Regions from separate parts of the Homo sapiens genome. Here region 2 is linked to region 1. The links are contacts of gene promoters, found by promoter capture Hi-C in blood cells and fetal thymus (Javierre and others, 2016). All regions are on one chromosome and are shown on one strand. Each heading gives the region's core, a stretch centred on a gene start or on the middle of the fragment in contact. The rest is flanking DNA. Distances are from core to core; before and after follow the strand shown. Region 1 holds the start of S100B (S100 calcium binding protein B). Region 2 overlaps DIP2A (disco interacting protein 2 homolog A).

Region 1 (4,457 bases), core at 1,261-3,760:
TCTGGGAATTTGCACTTTTATCATAATCCTTCCACCGGCCTCTTAGACAGCTGTGGGCCTGCCTTCTCTGTCCGTGTGGGCCACGGGGATATATTCCCATGCCCTCTGAATTCTGGCTGGGTTGGGCCAACAGGGAAACTGGCAAAAATACAGAGGCAGAGCAGCAAGGGAATTCAGGGATTAATTTCCCCTGAATTAATCCCCACAGGGTCCCTCTCTGTTCCTGCAAGGCTCCAAGATGAGGTGGTAGAGTGCAGGTGAGCAAACCATCAACTGCAAGCTGTTAAAATCAATCTGAAAGTGAGACAGTGACTAGGAGCAAAATAAGAAGACAAAAAATCAATAGCATTCCTATATTCTATCAGTAAAGAAGTAGAAAATACAGTGCAAAATATCCTATGCATATAGCAATAACATGTGATCTAAGACTAAGTTTAGGAAGAAAAACGTAGGTCCTTCCAAGAGATTCTGAGGAACATAAAATGTAGGAAGTTTTTCCTTTAAATTCATATGTAAATTTAAATCATTTTTAATAAAAACAATGGAATTTTTTTGGATGGGTGACATGACAAAAACAGCTGTAAAATTCATCAGGAAAAATAAATATGGTAGAATTGCCGCAATCTTTTTGAAGAATAACAGTGAAAGTTATTTGATCTACCAGGAAAAAAAAATGTATCCTAAGTTTAACTGATCAAATGGGTGTGGTTCTGTCGCAGGGAGGGACAGAATCCAGCAGAAAGCTGAGCTGCTGAGCCTGCATTCCACCTCCAGTGTACCGAAAGGGTGGCTCATTCACTGCAGTGACTGGGACGGCGGGAGGGGGTGGGGGCAGGAATAGGTGTTTCTCTGCAGCTGTCAAAGTAAGAGCCCCCCTACCTCCCTCACAGCAAGTACCTTACGCCACAGCCTACGAACCAAGGAAATATCTGGTCAGTCTGGGAATGAGGCGCATTTTACAAAGGTTGCCTTGTCAGTTGTTTCACAAAACAGATGCGCAGTCAGAGAAATTTACCAGCTTTTGGCCTTGAGTTCTAATCATTAAATAAGAACGTTTGCGCTGTCATAATTAAAAACAAATTAATAAATCAAATAGTGTTGAAAAATCATTCCCATGTTGAATATATAACTTACATCTTAAAAATAATTTGGAATTATTTTATTTATTTCTGATCCTCCGAAGGAAACAGGATTGAAGATTTTTTTATACTGGCCAGATCTTTGCTAAAGTCATTCTATTAATAATCAGTGTACTTTATTTTGCTCTTGAGTCCCTAAAAATTTGATAATTCACAAATAGAACAATTAAGATGGATTAAAATCTTTAACATTTCATGCTTTCTTATTCTTTGCACTCAAGTTTTCAATTATTGATATATGCATGTTTGTATGTGTGTGTATTTTTTTAAACAAAACAAGACACTTTTACATCATTCTGATGCTCCTCAAAGTCCATGATGATTTGGGGAAAAGGAGGTTAAATTGTTTTTCTATGAATTGTGACTAATGGGATTATTACAAAGGAAAGGCATAAAACATGTATCCCATATATTAGAACACTAATAGAAACCACTAGAAAATATGGTTTTCTTCATAACCACACTACAAATCAATTAAATTCTTGTTAAATTTTTCCCTTTGACCTAAGAAATAGTTGATGGTTTATAGTTTATCTTTTAAGAGAAATGGAAATAAATGTCCGTTTCTTTCTCACATTCTTTGAATGTCCTACATTAATCTTTTAATATTGAGAACAAGAGAACTTTTGAACTTTAACTCCTTAGAAAGACAAGTTACCTAGCGTGTGAGGATCCCTCTAAAGAAGGGGTTCGACCTCCCTGAGAAACTGTGAGACTGAGGAAAGTTAAAACCCACCAAAACCCCGATTTCTTTGACCCAATTTATTTGTAATTGTTACGTAATTTCTGAGTGGCGTCCTGGGGCTGTGGGGACCCTGGCACTTCAAACTGAGGGAAACTGGAAAACTGAAGAGTTACTTACCCAGGGCGGTGGAAGAAATATAAGGAGAAAAGGGAAGCATTTATTTATGATATAGGACTAAACTAGCATTAGGTTCTCCATCATTTTTAGCCCCAGTGGGAAGCAAAATCTTTACTCTTCAAATAGTTACAGAAGAGGCAGTATTTGTAGTACCGCTGGGAAAATGTCAACAATCACTTCTGGGCCATGAAACCTGACGTTTCTCTGATTTATGGCAAAACACACCTCTAGCTGTCTAGGGCTGATGCAGTCAGGTGTCCACAAAGCAGCAGTAATGTGGAGATTAAAACACATCATCCTATTGACACTTCTGAAATGCTGCCAATTGTCCTAAAGGGGCTTTTTAAGCTACCACTTAGTTTCTACCCCTCCATTCCGTTCCACCCAAAAGAAAAGAACCATTTCTTCCTGAGCGTCCTCTTGGCCTGGCTCTTTCTCACCTCTTCCTTGTCTCACCCCTTCCTGGTCTCCTTGCTGCAGGCGTCGTCTCTGCTGCGGGTCCTGGGCGGCAGGACTGGTGGGCAGAGGCAGCCTCTTATTCCCTCTGCCCAGGGAGGATGGATGAACCCTGGTGCAGCCCACTGCAGGCCGTGGCAGCCAATGGGAGCCGAAGGCGGGGGTGGCAGGGCTGCCAGGCCTGCACACAGGGCTGCATTGACCAAGCAGCCCCGGGGACTTGCTGGGAGCCAGGATTGCACATGGGCTGAGGAAGAAAAAAGGGCCTGTAGGGCAGGAAGTGGGGAGTCAGCTTTTTGTGCGATTTCTTTATTACATGAATATTGATGTCACCCTAAAGGCAAGGTTGGGGGTGGGGAGAGGAGAGAGACTTGGATTAATTGATTCAAACAAAGCAAATGTGCAGCCAAGAACAAGCAGCTTCCAAGTACAGGCTGAGCATAGGAGATTAAGTGGCCTGCAAGTTGGTTTCTAATGGAGAGGCCCCTGGAGCTTCTCTCCTCTGCCATCCTCCAAGTCTGGCCCCACTGGGCGTGAAGTTCTGTGGACAGTAGTGCTTGTCTGTGGTCAGCCCTGGGCTCAACGGGGCTGCCTCAGAGAAGCTGCTGAGGCCAGTGTCTGCAGGGACTAAAACGGGTGGTACTTTTAGGGGAAAACGTGATGTGTGGACTGTATCCCAAGGCCTTTCCCTCCACCCCAGGGTGGAAGGTCACAGACTCTCAGAGTTGGACGATGCCTTAGAGATGTCCCGTTCGAACGCTGTTTTACAGAGGCGTGTGGACGGTGTGCCCCCTTGCTGAAGCCTCCAGCCAGCCTGAGGAAGGAGAAGTCCAGCTGTCCCCTCAACTCGCTCGACTGGAGCCTCTGAACACGGGGGCCAGTTTATGGGTTCTTCTTCACAAGAATGAAGAAGTAGGTGTTCCTTCTGACAAATTACACAAGAACATTGGCCCAAACTCTCCAAAAATGTCCATGGTCCCCAATGGATGCCTGACCCAGCATCACGTCCTTCTCCCAACCCAGTTTCAAAGTGGCCGTGAAAGGGTTTCCCACAAGATATCTGTGTACATGGCTGTCTTGCTGTCATTGTTTTATCCAGGACGTTCTCTACCATTCAGGATCTGTAAGTGTGCCCTGGAAATAGCACAGGGCTGAGAGCTGTGGTCTTGCGTGGCTCAGCCTGCCCCAGCCTCCTGTGAGGAACAGCCTGAGCAGTGTGGTTGGCCCTCACTTCCTCATCGGCTTCACCACCCCTGGCTGTGGTCTCTGCTGAAGGATCTGACACAGGCTTGCTCTGTGAAGCACAGAGCTTGCCCAGGCCCAAGGAAGGCACAACTGTGCTCTGTGCCCCTTCCTCGCTCAGATGTTGGAGGGACCATTCCTGTAAGTGCTGACCACTTCCCCAGAGTGGCAGCCTGAGCTCTGGATTAACCCTTCAGTGTCCATAGAAAACGCTCTAGCCTGCTCCTGCAGGGGTTAAAAATAGTTTGAAATCCACTCATGCAATGACCGTACACCTGTGCTTAGGGCACTGCGTTCAGCAGGAGGGCCCAGCCGGGCCTGCCCTCTGCACACTGCAGCTTCCTGGGATGGCAAGTGTGGGGCCGTGGGTCCACCCTGTTCCCAGGTCTTGGAAGCAGGCTGAGAGAGAGGATCTGCCACAGGGAGGAAAAGGGCTTTCAAGCGCTCTGGGGCCCCAGGATGGTATTCTTTGCCCAGGCTCCCCAGGAGCTCGTGGATACAACCTCACCAGCTTCCCACAGATTCCTACAATTGCTGGGTCTGAATCTTGGCTCCACCATTTAACAGTGGTTTGACTTTGGATAAATTCCTAAGCCTTTCTGTGAAAGGGGTGACCGTAGTCCCTACTTTGCAGGGTTGTTCTGGGTGTTTTTCCCTGACCTTCACACTTCCTGATCACCCTGGCTTACCTGTCCTGACCCCTCAGTTTTAATCTTATCCCATTAGACTGGACAGCCACCAGATCCAATCATGTGTGA
Region 2 (4,457 bases), core at 627-3,126, 74 kb before region 1:
GCAACATGGCAAAACCCTGTCTCTACTAAAAATACAAAAAATTAGCTGGGCGTGGTGGTGCGTGCCTGTAATGCCAGCTACCCGGGAGGCTGAGGCATGAGAATCTCTTGAACCCAGGAGGTGGAGGTTGTAGTGAGCCAAGATCTCGCCACTGCACTCCAGCCTGGCGACAGAGTGAGACTCCGTCTCAAAGAGAAAAAAAAAAAAAAGCAGTGAAAAATATTAAATATGGCAAAGTTTGTGATGTAGAGTAAAGCAGCATTCTTTTTCTGCACTCGTTGTTTCATTGTTTGTCCACTGTTTCTTCATCTTCTTTTCTGTTTGACTTCATATATGTTGATATTAAAAATGTTAGATTCCAGAGCTTAGATTTTATGAATTAAAATCTGAAGGTCTGAAACCCTGCTGTGAAATTCTGTATTTTTATCTCCTTCCCTATTCTATGTGTCCAGGTAACCTCCTTGTACCTATCTGCCAAAATAGGATGCTGGAGACTTATTCTCTTGTGCTACACTGCCCTATATGGTTGGCAGTAGCCATTTGGGGCTATTTAAATTAACCAAAATTAAATAAAATAAAAAATTTAGTTTCTTGGTTGCACAAGCCACATTTCAAGGGCTCAGTAGGAGTGTGGCTAGTAGCTACTGTATTTATAGATCAGAGGTAGAACATTTCTGTCATCATAGAAACTTCTGTTGGACAGTACTACTGTAGGCAAGCTGGACCAGACCGGAGGACCCTGGTATACTAGAAAGTCCAGGGTGGAAAATAGGAGAACATGGTGAAAATCAACATACCAGTGAAATCCCCTAGTGAGAAGGTCACCTGTGTCAGATCACCCAACAAGGAAACTGCAGGTTAACAAGCTGGCAGACAGTTCCAAGTAGCTCTTTCAGTGCCTAAGTCTTTAATATGAACTATTAGCCAAGGACTTTTAAGAAGGAAATGTCAATATGAGAGAAAATACCAAAAGACAAAGAAAAGGGAAGGGAAGAGAGGGAGTGAGAAAGAGACAAGAAAAGTAAGGAAGGGAGGAAAGAGGAAACAACAAGGAAAGCTAGATACAGAAAACAATGTTTCTAAAAAGTGAGTATTAATATTCTTGGAAATCAGAGATGAAGATGTTTCATAAGTCAAGAAAAGGATGCCGGTAGGAAAGACTAAGAGATGGAGAGCGGAGTAAAATAGGACAAAAAGACTCGATCAAGAAGACACAACACCTGACTGATAACTGGAGTCGAGAAAGAGAAAGGAGAACAGAAAGTAGAACATTTTAAATGAAAATAGTAATTCAGGACAATATCCCGGACCTGGAGAGTGTAAACATTCAAGGATGCACACCAAAACGCATGCCCATAATATTGCATAATACGAGGGGTACAGAAAAGAATCCCAGAGCTTTCAGGGGAAAAGTAGGATGTACACAAAGGATTGGCAATGACAGTGGCTTTTGGGATTTCTCATTGGTAAAACTGAAAGAGAGTGGAATGATGCTTCAGACATTCAGAGGGAATATAATTTTAACTTAAAATTCTGTTCCCAGAGATTCAACAGATTTGAGAATAGTATAGCCATTTTCAGACATGCAGGACTCAGAAACGTTTGGCTCGCAAGCACTTTCTTGTCAAGTTCTTAGAAGATGTCCCTCAGCCACATGAGTGAGTGAGTGAGTAGGGTGCAAGCAGGAGGACCACAGTGGAGGCCCCAGGACGATCACTGGCAGCAGTCCAGGGGGGGCAGCAGAGCCACCATCAGGAGAACCAAGACTCCAGGGTGGGGTGGAATCCTCAGCACCCACCATCAGGAGAACCGAGACCCTCAGCAGTGGAGTCCTCAGCAGCAGGGGACACTCACGGCTCTCCTGAGTGGGTGGTTATTTGGAAAATGACCCACCAGTAGGTGGGTATTTGACCCAGCTGAGGGAGTATTTTAAAACAAATTAGCTAGAGAATACACAGAAAGCAACGCAAGTAGAAATGGAGGTAGCTGTTATCAGAAAAGAAAGGAAATGTGTACTTGGCTATAAAAATGTAAACAGTTTAAGAATAATACTTTATGATATGTTGTGCTCATAGATGAGATTTTATGCAACGCTTTAGAATGAATTCAAGAATCACTAATTTTCTTGAAAAACATTCTTACAAGGATAAAGACTTTCAGATTCTTGACTTGCAAGAGAATCTCTTTGGTTAGGTGAATCATAATAAAATGGACAAGGTCACAGTGATTGAGTTGAAGAAATTGGTGGCAAATTCTGCCTCCTATAATATTACACTTTATAAAAGTGAGCACAGCTCTTCCTAACAAATTCTGTAAAAATATACTTTCCATACCAAACATCTAGTCTGAAGGTTATAGGTTACATTCTGGGCAACCACTGTTAAAACCAAATTTTGAAGGAGAACCTTGCCCTTTTCAACAAACAAACTTGTTAGAAACTAAATTTCCAGACCTCAAGTACAGAATATAGATACAGCTTAAATTTTGTCTTACAAAGTCAGCACTTATTGGTTATTCATTGTTGCGTGTTCTCAAAGGCCCTGAGTCAACTGTCTCTACTCAGTTAAATACTATTTGGACTTGTCCCTTATGGTTTCAAGCACAATTATTACAATATTTGGGGCTTACAAAAATTTTATTTATAACTAGCTTTTAATTTAACTAGATATTGTAAAAATTGGAAATTTGGAATATTCATTTCTTTGTCCTGTTGTAGGTGGCGCTCGTGTTTCCGAATAGTGACCCTGTGATGTTCATGGTTGCATTTTATGGGTGTCTCCTGGCAGAGCTGGTTCCTGTCCCCATAGAAGTGCCATTAACAAGAAAGGTAGCAAACCCATGGCTCAGGTCCCGTGTGGTTCGCTTCTGAACTTGATACCAGCAGTATCTTACTTCCTTTTCACTCATGTGGGCAGGCAGCAAGCAGCTGTTTTGACAGAGGAGAGAAAGCTAGTAGTCAACAGGCTGGCCAGGACTCAAGAGAAATCAGATGCCGTTTTGCCTGCCTCTCTTCTTGTTAATGAGAGGGGCACTGAGAACCGTTTTGCTGGTGATGCTCCCACACCACACTCTTATTAGGTGGAGCTGTTCTATCATCTACATGAATTTCCCAACAGAAATGATAGCCATTTTTTCCTCTAATGAATAGAATTATGATTCAATAAGATTTTGTTCAACTTTTCCTCAAAACCATATGTTTATAGAAAATAATTATTATTTCTTAGGGATAAATATATCATTACAGTGATATAGCTCACTTCTCAGTGGCAGTTTTGAATAAACGAGATGGAAATTATCTTGCATTTCTGTTCACTTATATGACCGTAGGCAGTTTCTGTTGCTGATAAATTATTAATGTGGGGTCTTGCTGATCTAGGTATCTGTAACATTTTTGATATAACTATCAATAATATGATTACTGAAAAAAAATAGACAAGGCATGAATTTGAGAAAATCAGTTTTCTGTCATCCTGTCCCAGAATTCAGGCAGTTGTTAACAGGAGCATTATCCAGAAATATTCAAGAATCCCAAAAGTAAAATTTGCAAATCAAACTAGTGTATCTCAAAGCATAATATGTGATGGGCAGGTATTTGAATGCAGTGGTTCTTAGGAGTAAAACTAGAGATTTGTCAAATTTATATGAAGAAAATGACAGAATACTGCTGAGGGACACAGAAGACTTGGCTACAAGGAAATGTGTTTCTGTGTGGAAATAATTTAATATCGTTGGTGACCAGGCCTCTCTAGATTAATTTGTAAATTTCAAACATGATTCAATAGAAATTTCAATGCCATTAACTTTGGAGTTTATTAAAAATGCTTCTAAATGTCATTTGTAAGAATAAACTTTGAGAAATTAGCCCATTAAACTTTATATTTCAACACAAATACAAACCAAAATTATCTTTTAAATTTAAACATAGTTGTCACATTTTCATGAACTATTTCCGTGAAAAGATCATATATATCAATAATGGGACTGAATTATTCTGGAAGTTTTATGAGGGATGAAAAAAAGATCTGTTCTCTGTGCATGGCCTGGAGCACCAAGGGTCTGGGGCTGTGGCTGCTGTGAGCACCCCACCCCACACGGTCACTCTGCTTTCTGCAGGATGCAGGCAGCCAGCAGGTTGGGTTTCTGCTGGGCAGCTGTGGAGTCTTCTTGGCCCTGACCACAGACGCTTGTCAGAAAGGCCTCCCCAAGGCACAGACAGGAGAGGTGGCAGCTTTCAAAGGTGAGGCCTCCCAAGGGAAGGGGAGTCAGTGTTCTGACTGTGGTCTGTGTTAAATGCATGGTGTTCCAGAAATTAAACATGACAGAGGTGTCTGGGTCTTCAGCAAAAGTGATCCCTTGTTCGAGTCCTTGGTGAATCTCGGTTTTCATCTGGCTTCATGTCTCGACCTGTACTGTCTAATGTGGTAGCCACTGGCCGGATGTACCTTTTTAAATTATAT

Evidence for each region. Contacts are between HindIII fragments. The CHiCAGO score rates a contact against its expected background, and 5 or more counts as called.
Region 2: a fragment that was not itself captured here is called in contact with the fragment with the promoter of S100B in region 1 in 1 of 17 cell types (naive CD8 T cells); the score reaches 5.0 in naive CD8 T cells.

The regions. Positions count from the first base shown.
Region 1 is chr21:46,602,572-46,607,028 of GRCh38, forward strand. S100B (S100 calcium binding protein B) reads right to left here and starts at 2,511. Exons shown (of 3, transcript NM_006272.3): 1 at 2,442-2,511. RefSeq lists an enhancer at 3,549-4,050. The HindIII fragment of the contact is 9,714 bases long and covers 1-4,457 here.
Region 2 is chr21:46,529,411-46,533,867 of GRCh38, forward strand. It overlaps DIP2A (disco interacting protein 2 homolog A), which reads left to right. Exons shown (of 38, transcript NM_015151.4): 10 at 2,717-2,827; 11 at 4,114-4,237. Among named protein-coding and RNA genes, the nearest start is that of DIP2A-IT1, 69 kb to the left of the region's middle. The HindIII fragment of the contact is 8,719 bases long and covers 1-4,457 here.